Regions from separate parts of the Homo sapiens genome. Here region 2 is linked to region 1. The links are contacts of gene promoters, found by promoter capture Hi-C in blood cells and fetal thymus (Javierre and others, 2016). All regions are on one chromosome and are shown on one strand. Each heading gives the region's core, a stretch centred on a gene start or on the middle of the fragment in contact. The rest is flanking DNA. Distances are from core to core; before and after follow the strand shown.

Evidence for each region. The method cuts DNA at HindIII sites, captures the fragments that hold promoters and counts their contacts. A CHiCAGO score of 5 or more calls a contact.
Region 2: a contact is called between a fragment that was not itself captured here and the fragment with the promoter of TMEM200A in region 1, in 2 of 17 cell types (activated CD4 T cells and megakaryocytes). The highest score is 5.3, in activated CD4 T cells.

Annotation. Positions count from the first base shown.
Region 1 is chr6:130,364,045-130,368,515 of GRCh38, forward strand. TMEM200A (transmembrane protein 200A) reads left to right here and starts at 1,973. Exons shown (of 3, transcript NM_001258277.2): 1 at 1,973-2,480. It also overlaps a transcript of SAMD3 not described here. RefSeq lists a silencer at 1,407-1,506. The HindIII fragment of the contact is 9,800 bases long and covers 1-4,086 here.
Region 2 is chr6:130,622,918-130,627,472 of GRCh38, forward strand. No RefSeq gene overlaps it. Among named protein-coding and RNA genes, the nearest start is that of SMLR1, 200 kb to the right of the region's middle. RefSeq lists a silencer at 3,267-3,561. The HindIII fragment of the contact is 1,494 bases long and covers 2,113-3,606 here.

The DNA of each region.
Region 1 (4,471 bases), core at 723-3,222:
TACTGAATTGCAAATAATCCTCTATTTACAGGCCATTTTACCCGCCTCTTCTGAGACTAATAGTAATTATTTTAAAAAGAAATCTAAATAATTCCCTTTTGGTGATTTTACTTAGTCTATCTTTCTTCTTTTTTGGTAAATCACTAAAATCTGAGTTCATAGTTCATAAATGAGGAAGCATCAATATCTGTGGCCTTAAGAATGTGCTTATTCCTTTTTTCATGGCTCTCATCAGTCTCTTTTTGAGGACGGCTCAGTCACTCAATGCTTAAAATGGCTAGATGACCATTTTAAACGTTTTACCATGGGTCTTAGAGAGGATGTCACCTCAAATGATCTATGGACTATGAGCCTATTCCTATTACTCACTCCTTAGATAGTGAGGGGAACCAGGAGGTGTTTCCTCTCAGGAGCTTTACAGACAATGTGGCTTCAGGGTGTTTCTTTATAAAATGTAGAGGTAACTAGGAAGAGGGCCCAATGGAAGCACACTCCTTTGATATGGTGCTTGACAAACACATTTAAGAAAACCTAAGAGAATTGAGCAGGTGGCTGTGGGCTAGAATACTAGATGCAGGTGGGGTAAAAATAAAACCACAGATGGTTTATAAAGGTGACTCATCCTTCCCCCACCGTAACTCCTTTAGTTTTCTTTTCTTTCTTTTTATAAAACATTTTGATTGTGACATCTCCACTAAAAGTGCCCAATCTCTAAATTCTTCTAGTCAAGGCAAGAAGGTTATACCACAGGAAATCCATTTCTACAGTCTCTTCTCATTGCCATATCTGATTTTAAAGACTTTTTTTTCTAATGTGGAAATTTTTGCATGGCTCTCCCCCACCCCCCAAACACGGATTTTATACCCCCCCAGAAGCAAACTTTTCTTGAAAACGAGATAAACAGATCACACGCCGAAATAAACAAATACACTGCACCAGAATATCATACTTGCCTTCTATCACTTAAAACAGATCCAGGGGACACAAGCATAGCACACACCTTGTGCATGCGGCTGGCCTGCACAGGGGGTGGTTGGAATATCCGGTAATTAGTTTTACATGAAACTTTACTTACGGAATTGGCCTGCATATATACAGTCATCACCGTCTTTGCCGAATTAGAGACGACATATTTTACTCTGTGAACAGGCCAGTCTCCACTCACTGGATGTTTGGGGTCAAGGAGGAGTAACCTGAACCTCTCGTTGGCTTTGATGTTTGGAGTCGAACATCCGCACTGCTCATCGAAGACCCCCGTGCTTCAGTTCCCTCTGTCTTCCATTTCCCCCGCCCATGGTTCTCGCCCCCCCAAGCCGTTCTCCGGAACCCCTTGCCGGGCCGGCGGGAAGCGTGGACGGAGCGGGCCTTGGCCGCGTCTTTTCCGGCCAGGTTTGGTTTAGCTCGCGCAGCGCCCGCGCAGCCCGCCAGGGGGACCCCGGCCCGCCGGGCGGCATCTGAGGAGAAAGCGTCCGAGGGGCGTGGAGCCAGGGTCCTGCGGTGCCTGCTCCGGGAATACTGCGAGTCGGCTGGAGCTCCCCAGCCGCTCCGGAGAACTGGGGGAGCCGGGTCCCTGGCTCGGTAACCGGTGGTCCCGCGGTAGCTAGAGGCGGGCCCCACGGGTGGGTGTGTCCGTTTCCGCACGCCAGCCTTCCAGCCCGGGAAGAGCGCCTGCAAGCGGGTACTTTGTTCCCAAAGATGGGTTTTGTCTGCGGGTGATTTGGGCTCTCGAAGTGCAACTTTGTGGCCGGGACGCGGATCGGCCGGCCTGGGCTCCTGCAGAGCAGATCCTGTCTGCGTCCTCCAGGAGGAGTGGGTGGCAGGACTGGGGTTTCCCACAGGTTTTGGGGCGGCGGCGAGATTGGCACGGTCCGGGGTCGCAGGCGCGCAGCCACGCCCCTGGAAGTCCGCCCCGGCCCCCGCCCCCAACCCGCCTCTTCGGGGCTTTATGGCGTGAGGTTTGGGGCTGGGATCCATCTGGAGCCGAGCAGAAAACTTTTCCCCTCCCGTTCCCGGTCCCTTTTGTCTTTCTTGGACGCGGTGGCGGCGCCGCCTGAGCGGCGACTCCCTCTCCCCTGCCCGGCTTGCTGCGCCCGGTGCCCTCCGAGGGCAGGCGCGCCTGGACTCTGCGCCCGGATGGCGGCGGCCCTCTGTGAGCACCGGCAGCGGCGCATCCCCTGCCCCGAGGCCTCCGGTGCCCCCCCGGCGCGGGCATAGGGGCGCCCCCACCCTCCGTCCGCTTGCACCCCTTGCCACCCGCCCCCTCGCCTGACTCATCCGCCCGCGGTGGCCGCCCGAGCCCTGGGATGGGGAGGGAGACCGCGGCTGCCCGCGGCGGCCGAGATTCCCGCTGACGCCCCCGACCCTGCCGCCTTCTTCGTCCGCCTCCAGAGGCGCCCGACGTCCCGACAGCTCCTGGAGTGAGACCAGGACTGAGAACAGGGAGAGGCGACCCGACCCCCAGGGCCCGGTGCTCAGGACAGGTGAGGGGAAGGAAAGGGTGCTGACGGGAGTGGGGAGGTGGGTGGGCGGCCACCGCAGCCGAAACCGGGCACTTCTTCAGCCCTCTGCCCTCCCCTCCCCTCCGCTACAGCCTCCAGAGTTAGGTAAACGCTGTCTCTCCTAAAGTTTGGGAAATAAACCAAGTCCGCCATCAGGTCCAGACTCCCCAGTCCCGGGAGCGCGAGAGAAGCCGTGCGGGGCAGCCTCCAAGAACCCGGAGTACTGGAGCGCCTGGCTGGGTTTCTCCAAGCAACACCCTCCTTTGTCTCGGTTCCTGAGAGTCAGCATTCTCTGTAATGTCCACAGCGTTAATTCATGATTGAGCAAAGTATGGTCAGGGTTTCGTAAAGCAGTATCTGGATGGGGTAGAATCTACACAGGCAAAATGGAGAGGCAAAGCAATTATTTGCAAAATTCAGCACTACTCTTCTCCCTGTAGTCTTGTCTGTAAGAGAAAGGACTGAGGGCTTCTAAGATTTGCTTCATTAATCATTCTTTTGCTATAAATTGTTCCAGCCAACACTTCACATTGTGTAGGCGCAAGCTCTCTGTGTGTATTTACCGCTGTTTGATTTAGAAAAATGTGTGTGTGTTTGTGTGTTTTTTTTAAATAACAATTCATTGTTCAGTACCGGGCATTGGTAATGTCGGAGAGAAAGGCAGATGCAGCACATACAGGTAATTGACTAATTGGAATCAGCCTTAGTCCGGTCCACCTTAGTCTGGTGTATTTAAAAACTAAATATGTTGGACTAAAGTGTCTCTTGCCTTGTCTCTTCTGAATACCTTCAGAAGTAGTTATGGACAACTGCATAGAAAACATTTCAAGAATCGATGATTATTCTTGTTTATAAGAAAGAATATTGAACTCTCGGTTTTGCAATCAAACCAAGTTTGAGGCACACTTTCTATAGTGCTGTATGCATAAATATTACCAGAGCTTGTGAAAGCTATTTACTTTGTCGTTTCTTGAATTATGGAACACTTATAAAAAGACCTTCAATTTGTTATTTGGCTACTGATACTAGAAAGCATTATCATTTTGTGAAAAGTAGACTAAATTTTGAAACTTTTTAAACCTTACTTTATTTTCCCACTGTTTACCTACACAGAAGTATGTAGTTGTAGTTTCATTCTTTATAAACACCTCAAGTGAAGAATAGAAGTCCTTCTAAACAGAAAATAATGCTTCCATTAAGTGGAAACTATAGTTAAATGCTTTGACAATTTAACAGTATGATTTTTTTACTGTAAAAAACACACACTGAGGTGTTTAGAATGATTTTTTAACCAAGTCCTACTAGATAGCTCATAATTATGAGATAATGTAACTATAATTTGTAACCCTGGTTATAATTAGCTTTGTATCTGGGCTGGGAAAGCCTTCATTAGAGTTGTATGGAAAGTCCCTGTAGGTAAATTCCAGGCAGTTAGCACAGAAAGGCTTCACCTGTTGCCTTTGAGGCAGGTCTAGGTAAATGCTGTAGTGTCTGAAGACACCCGTAATCAGAAGGGATTCTTCAGGAAAGATCATTGTAAAGAGGGATGGCTGTACTTGTTATTTTAACTTAGTGGAATTTTTAGTGAAGCTTTTGAATACTACAGGAGTTAGATTGTTATATTTGGACTTGTGTAGCTTCAGAATTTTGACAATAGCTCATTGGCCAGAAAAGGATAACTACTGACATATAGAGGGAACGGATCTGAACTGATTGGTTAAATGCTGTACTTCTCATGATGACTCTTAGCATAAAGGAAAGAAATTCATATTTAGCTTAGGAAGATAGATAAGAACAAAGATAAAAGCAAATGTCAACTTTTACATTTCTTAAGCAAAATTAGTAGAGGATAAAAAATAAGCCCTTGTAGTCATACACGTTACTTATCAAATAGAGGGTAGAATTTAAAAGAGGAAAAATAACTTGTGCAGCAACAGAAATCCAAACCTGCAATGAGATGGACCTCATTTTAT
Region 2 (4,555 bases), core at 1,610-4,109, 260 kb after region 1:
TGATTTACATTTTCCTGATCAGTAGTGTTAAGCATTTTTTCCTATACCTGCTGGTCATTTCTCCTCCGGAGAAATGCCTATTCAGATCTTTTGCCCATTTTTAATTGGATTACTTTTATCTTTGCTATTGAGTTCGACTTTCTTATATATTTGGATATTAATCCTTTTTCAGATATATGATTGCAAATATTTTATCCCATTCTGTAGGTTGCCTTTCCATTTTCCATATTTCCTTTGTTGTGAAGAAGGTTTTTAGTTTGATGTAGTCCTCCTTGTCTGTTTTTAGTGTCATATTCAAGAAACCATTGCCAAGACCAATGTCATGGAGATTTTCTCTTATGTTTTCTTTTAATAGCTTTGCAGTTTCAGGTCTTATGTTTAAGTCTTTAATCCATTTAATCCAACATGAGTTTTGTGCATGCTGTAAGTCCAATTTCATTCTTTTGCATGTGTTTATCCAGTTTTTCCAACAGTAATTATTGAAGGGACTATCCTTTCCTTATTGTGTATTTTTGGCACCCTTGTTGAAAATCAGTTGATGTTATATGCTTGATTTTATTTCTGAGTTTCCTATTCTGTTCCAATTGATCTATTTGTCTGGTTTTTTTTTTATGCCAGTACCATATTGTTTTGATTACTATAGTGTTGGGATATATTTTGAAGTCAGGAAGTACAATACGTCCAACTTTGCCCTTCTTGCTGGAAATCCCTCTATTTAGGGTCATGTGTTCCATATGAATTTTAGGATTGTTTTCCTATTTGTTTGAAAAATGCCATTGGGATTTTAATAGAGATTGCATTGAATCTATAAATCACTTTGAGTAGTGCAGACATTTTAACATTAATTCTTCCAATCCATGAACATGGGATATCTTTACATTTATTTGTGTCTGCTTTAACTTCTTTCATCATTGTTTTCTAAATTTCAATGTACAAGTCTTCCACCTCCTTGGCTAAGTCATTTCCTGAGTCCTTTCTATAGCCATTGTAAATGGGGTTGTTTCCTTAATTTCTTTAATTCCCCAGAGATGTTTGGATTGCAAACAGATAATTCCACTAGCTATAGAAAAATCTATAAATGTTGACTTTCAGATTTATTTTCCAAGTATCCTTTGAAAGAAACAAATAGCATTTTTGTACAGATCCCCCAAAAATGATAATTTCATTTTTATATTTTAAGTCAATTTAAATTCAATCTTGAACCTAGAAAAATTAGAGTATTAGTCTGCTTCAATGCCCACACTCCTGTGAACATTGTCAGAGTCAAAATGGAGTAAATTGTGTTTAAAATTCTGGCAAATAGAGCTGGGAAAGTCCACGAAGGAAGGGTTCTCATGCATAAATGACTAATAGCAAGAACTATCACAAAAGACGCTGCAAAACCACAACTTTGCACAAAGGCCATGGCAACTTTACACAAAAATATACTTCTGCAAGGACATCTGCCCAGCAACTACCTGTCCAACCTCAGACCAGCAAGGTTATTGACTTTTTTAGCCAAGGATAATTACCTTAAAACAATTATGTAAACTTTATCATTTTTCTTTTAAAAATCCTGGTCTTCTTTTACCTTCCTGAATACGCACATAGTTTACTGTGGCACACATATTCCCTTTGCAATGCCCTATTTCAAGAAAATAAATATTTTCTTTTATAGAGCGTCTCTCTGCTTGTTATTAAGGTTAACACTCGCTGCTGCTTCTTAAAACACACCAAAAATAACTGTTTTTTCTTTCAGACTTTTCCTGAGAGAGCATATATTCAAAATTCTCTAGTTTTCTGTTTATTGTTGTCATTGTTATTGCTGCCTGTAAGACAACAAATATACCAAAAGCAAGAGAATACTTTCATCTAACCAATTTTTCATGCCCAACAAGTTGCTAAAGCAAGATTGATGAGTGAACGGCTAGAATAATAGGAAGAACAAACTTTTTCCTGCTGGTGGGATAAGCTGGTGCTCAGCTGGAAGCAGTTCTCTAACTGCTGAAAGAATAATGGAAACTTCTCTGGAACATCCTTAGGGAATTTAATACCTGTAAATGAGTGAAAGGAAAAAGGTACAATGTGCACAAACAAGCATATACACATCTTGAAATGAATTCTAGATCCTGAAGCTTAATTCACAGCTGCTAGTATTGAAATCCTTTGTTTAGAATAATTTAGAGCAAATTTAACCAGTAATTAATAAAATAGATTTTACAGTAATTGAAGTTAGATAGCGAAGTTGATAATTATTTTGGAGCTTTAGAATTTTTCTCTCTACAAACTAGATTTCTAAGAATATTCTTTTTTTTTTTTTTTTTTTTTTTTTTTGATATGGGGTCTTGCTCTGTCACTCAGCTTACTGCAACCTCCACCTCCCAGGCTCAAGCAATCCTCCCAAGTCAGCCTGCCAAGTAGCTGGGACTACAGGTGTGCACCACCACACTCTGTTAATTTTTGTATTTTTCACAGAGGTGGGTTTTCACTATGTTGCCCAGGCTTGTCTCAAACTCCTGGGCTCAAGCAATTCACCTGCCTTGGCCTCCCAAAGTGCTGGGATTTCAGGTGTGAGCCACCGTGACCGGCCCCTGAGAATATTCTTAAGATATTTACAGTGGAATAGGTAAAGTGAGTGATAGGGAGTGCTGAAGATAATAAACAGAACTCATTATCTGAAGTTATCAGTAGTTCGGTTTTCTCACAGTTAATCCATATTTATGAAAATAATAAGTTGTCAATCAAGAATAGAATCAATAAAAATATTTATTAATCTGCCATGTTAAGACTACAGGCACATAAAAACAAAGAGATTAATTCAAACATTTCATCTGCATAATACCTCAAACCTGACTATTTAAAAGTGGTTGGGTAATTAAGTAGACATTTCACTTTTTATACAAATATTTGGAATCTTTCCATGCCTAAGGTTTATTTTCTTCATTAAAGTGTTATGATTACTGCCACTTACCTGGGAAATAAAATGTGACAGGAAGTTCATCATGAAATGGAGATGCCATTCCCTGCCTGGGACTATTTCCCACTCTTGTTCCATCTGTACAATAGTCATTCTATAACCTCGGCCCCAGAGGGTCTGAGGTTGGGACTTAGCCTTACCAACCAAAGAAACAACTCCTGGTCTGAGTCATAGAGTCATAAATTTAGTCACATAAAACTGTCATCTTCAGTGACACTCATTGAAAATGTGCCTGGACCTATACAATTTCCTTTAAATTAATTTCAATTTCCAGGGAAAAATGATTCAGAAAGCAAATAACGTTAATGTTCTTCCCACAAATTCAAAATAATTTTGAGAATTTCACCACTATATAGTCAGTTATAAGATGGCAAAATAAAAACATTTTTCAAATTCTTAAAGCAGTGAGATGCTAATTGTTCATTTGTGAAAAGCCAGAAGCCCTGTTTTTAAATAACAGTGCATCAATTTCCAACTTGAAACAGATGTTGGCACTTGGGATGACTCATTATTCTTAACTCCTGTCGGAGCACTTGCCCACTGGGCCTCAGATTAAATTTCAGAACACAGGCAGCAGCACTAACTTCTGAGAAGAAAATGTCACTAGAATGCCATTTCACATCAGTGACAGTGGCTTCTTCAGAAAATTAAGCTTCATTTCATGTCTGCAAGAACAGTGACCATTGACTCACCACTGCGTTAGTTCAGCTTGCCCAATAATAACTACAGAGCTTCACTCTAAAATCAAGTGCAATAGCTGCAAACAAGCTTAGAAACGGGACTCAGACAGAGCACCTAATAACTGCCCTCGCAGTTACTTTTCTTCAAAACTCATTCTACTTCTAAAGATCTATAGAATATGGACATAATTTGGTCCTTAAAGTCTAAAATAGACAATGCAAATTTGGCTAGATGAATTTGATCATTTGATCAGAATCATCAAGCGCTATCAGAAATTTATCATTACATATTATTTTTTACTTAAGCTCAAAGACTTTATTTAAGTTTCCAAATCTTATTTAAAAACACATTCCAAATTAAGTTATGGGAGAGTGAACAGTTCTGTGTAAATTCTAATTTAACTTAATTTTTTAAAAGACGAAGATCTGATCTCTCGATCAGGAGGACTCTCTAAACTTGAAAGCATTGGAAGGTATCAGAAAGGAAAATAATCACTGTATTTGCTTTCCTAAAAATGTAAAATATATGTATCTAAAAAGTGTCATTCAAAAATTAAGAAACATATAAAACTGAGTAAATATTTATGATGAATATTGCAAAGGGTTGCATTCTTAATTTAAATTGATAAATGACCACCAAAATATCATTATACAAAAGACATGAGCAAGAAATTCACAGGTAAGGAAATATAAGTAGCAAGTACATTTAAGAAAAAAGTGTTCAACCTATCAATTAAACTGACAAGGTGTTATCTTTCTTTTAATAAATTGACACTATTTTATAAATATATTATTTTTAATATAAATATCATTTATTCTTGGCATTAGTATTAGTAGTATTATGTTAGTACTCTCAGTATTAGAATTAGTAGAATTATAAATTAGTCCCATCTTGCTAAAAAAAAAATGCATTGGCATT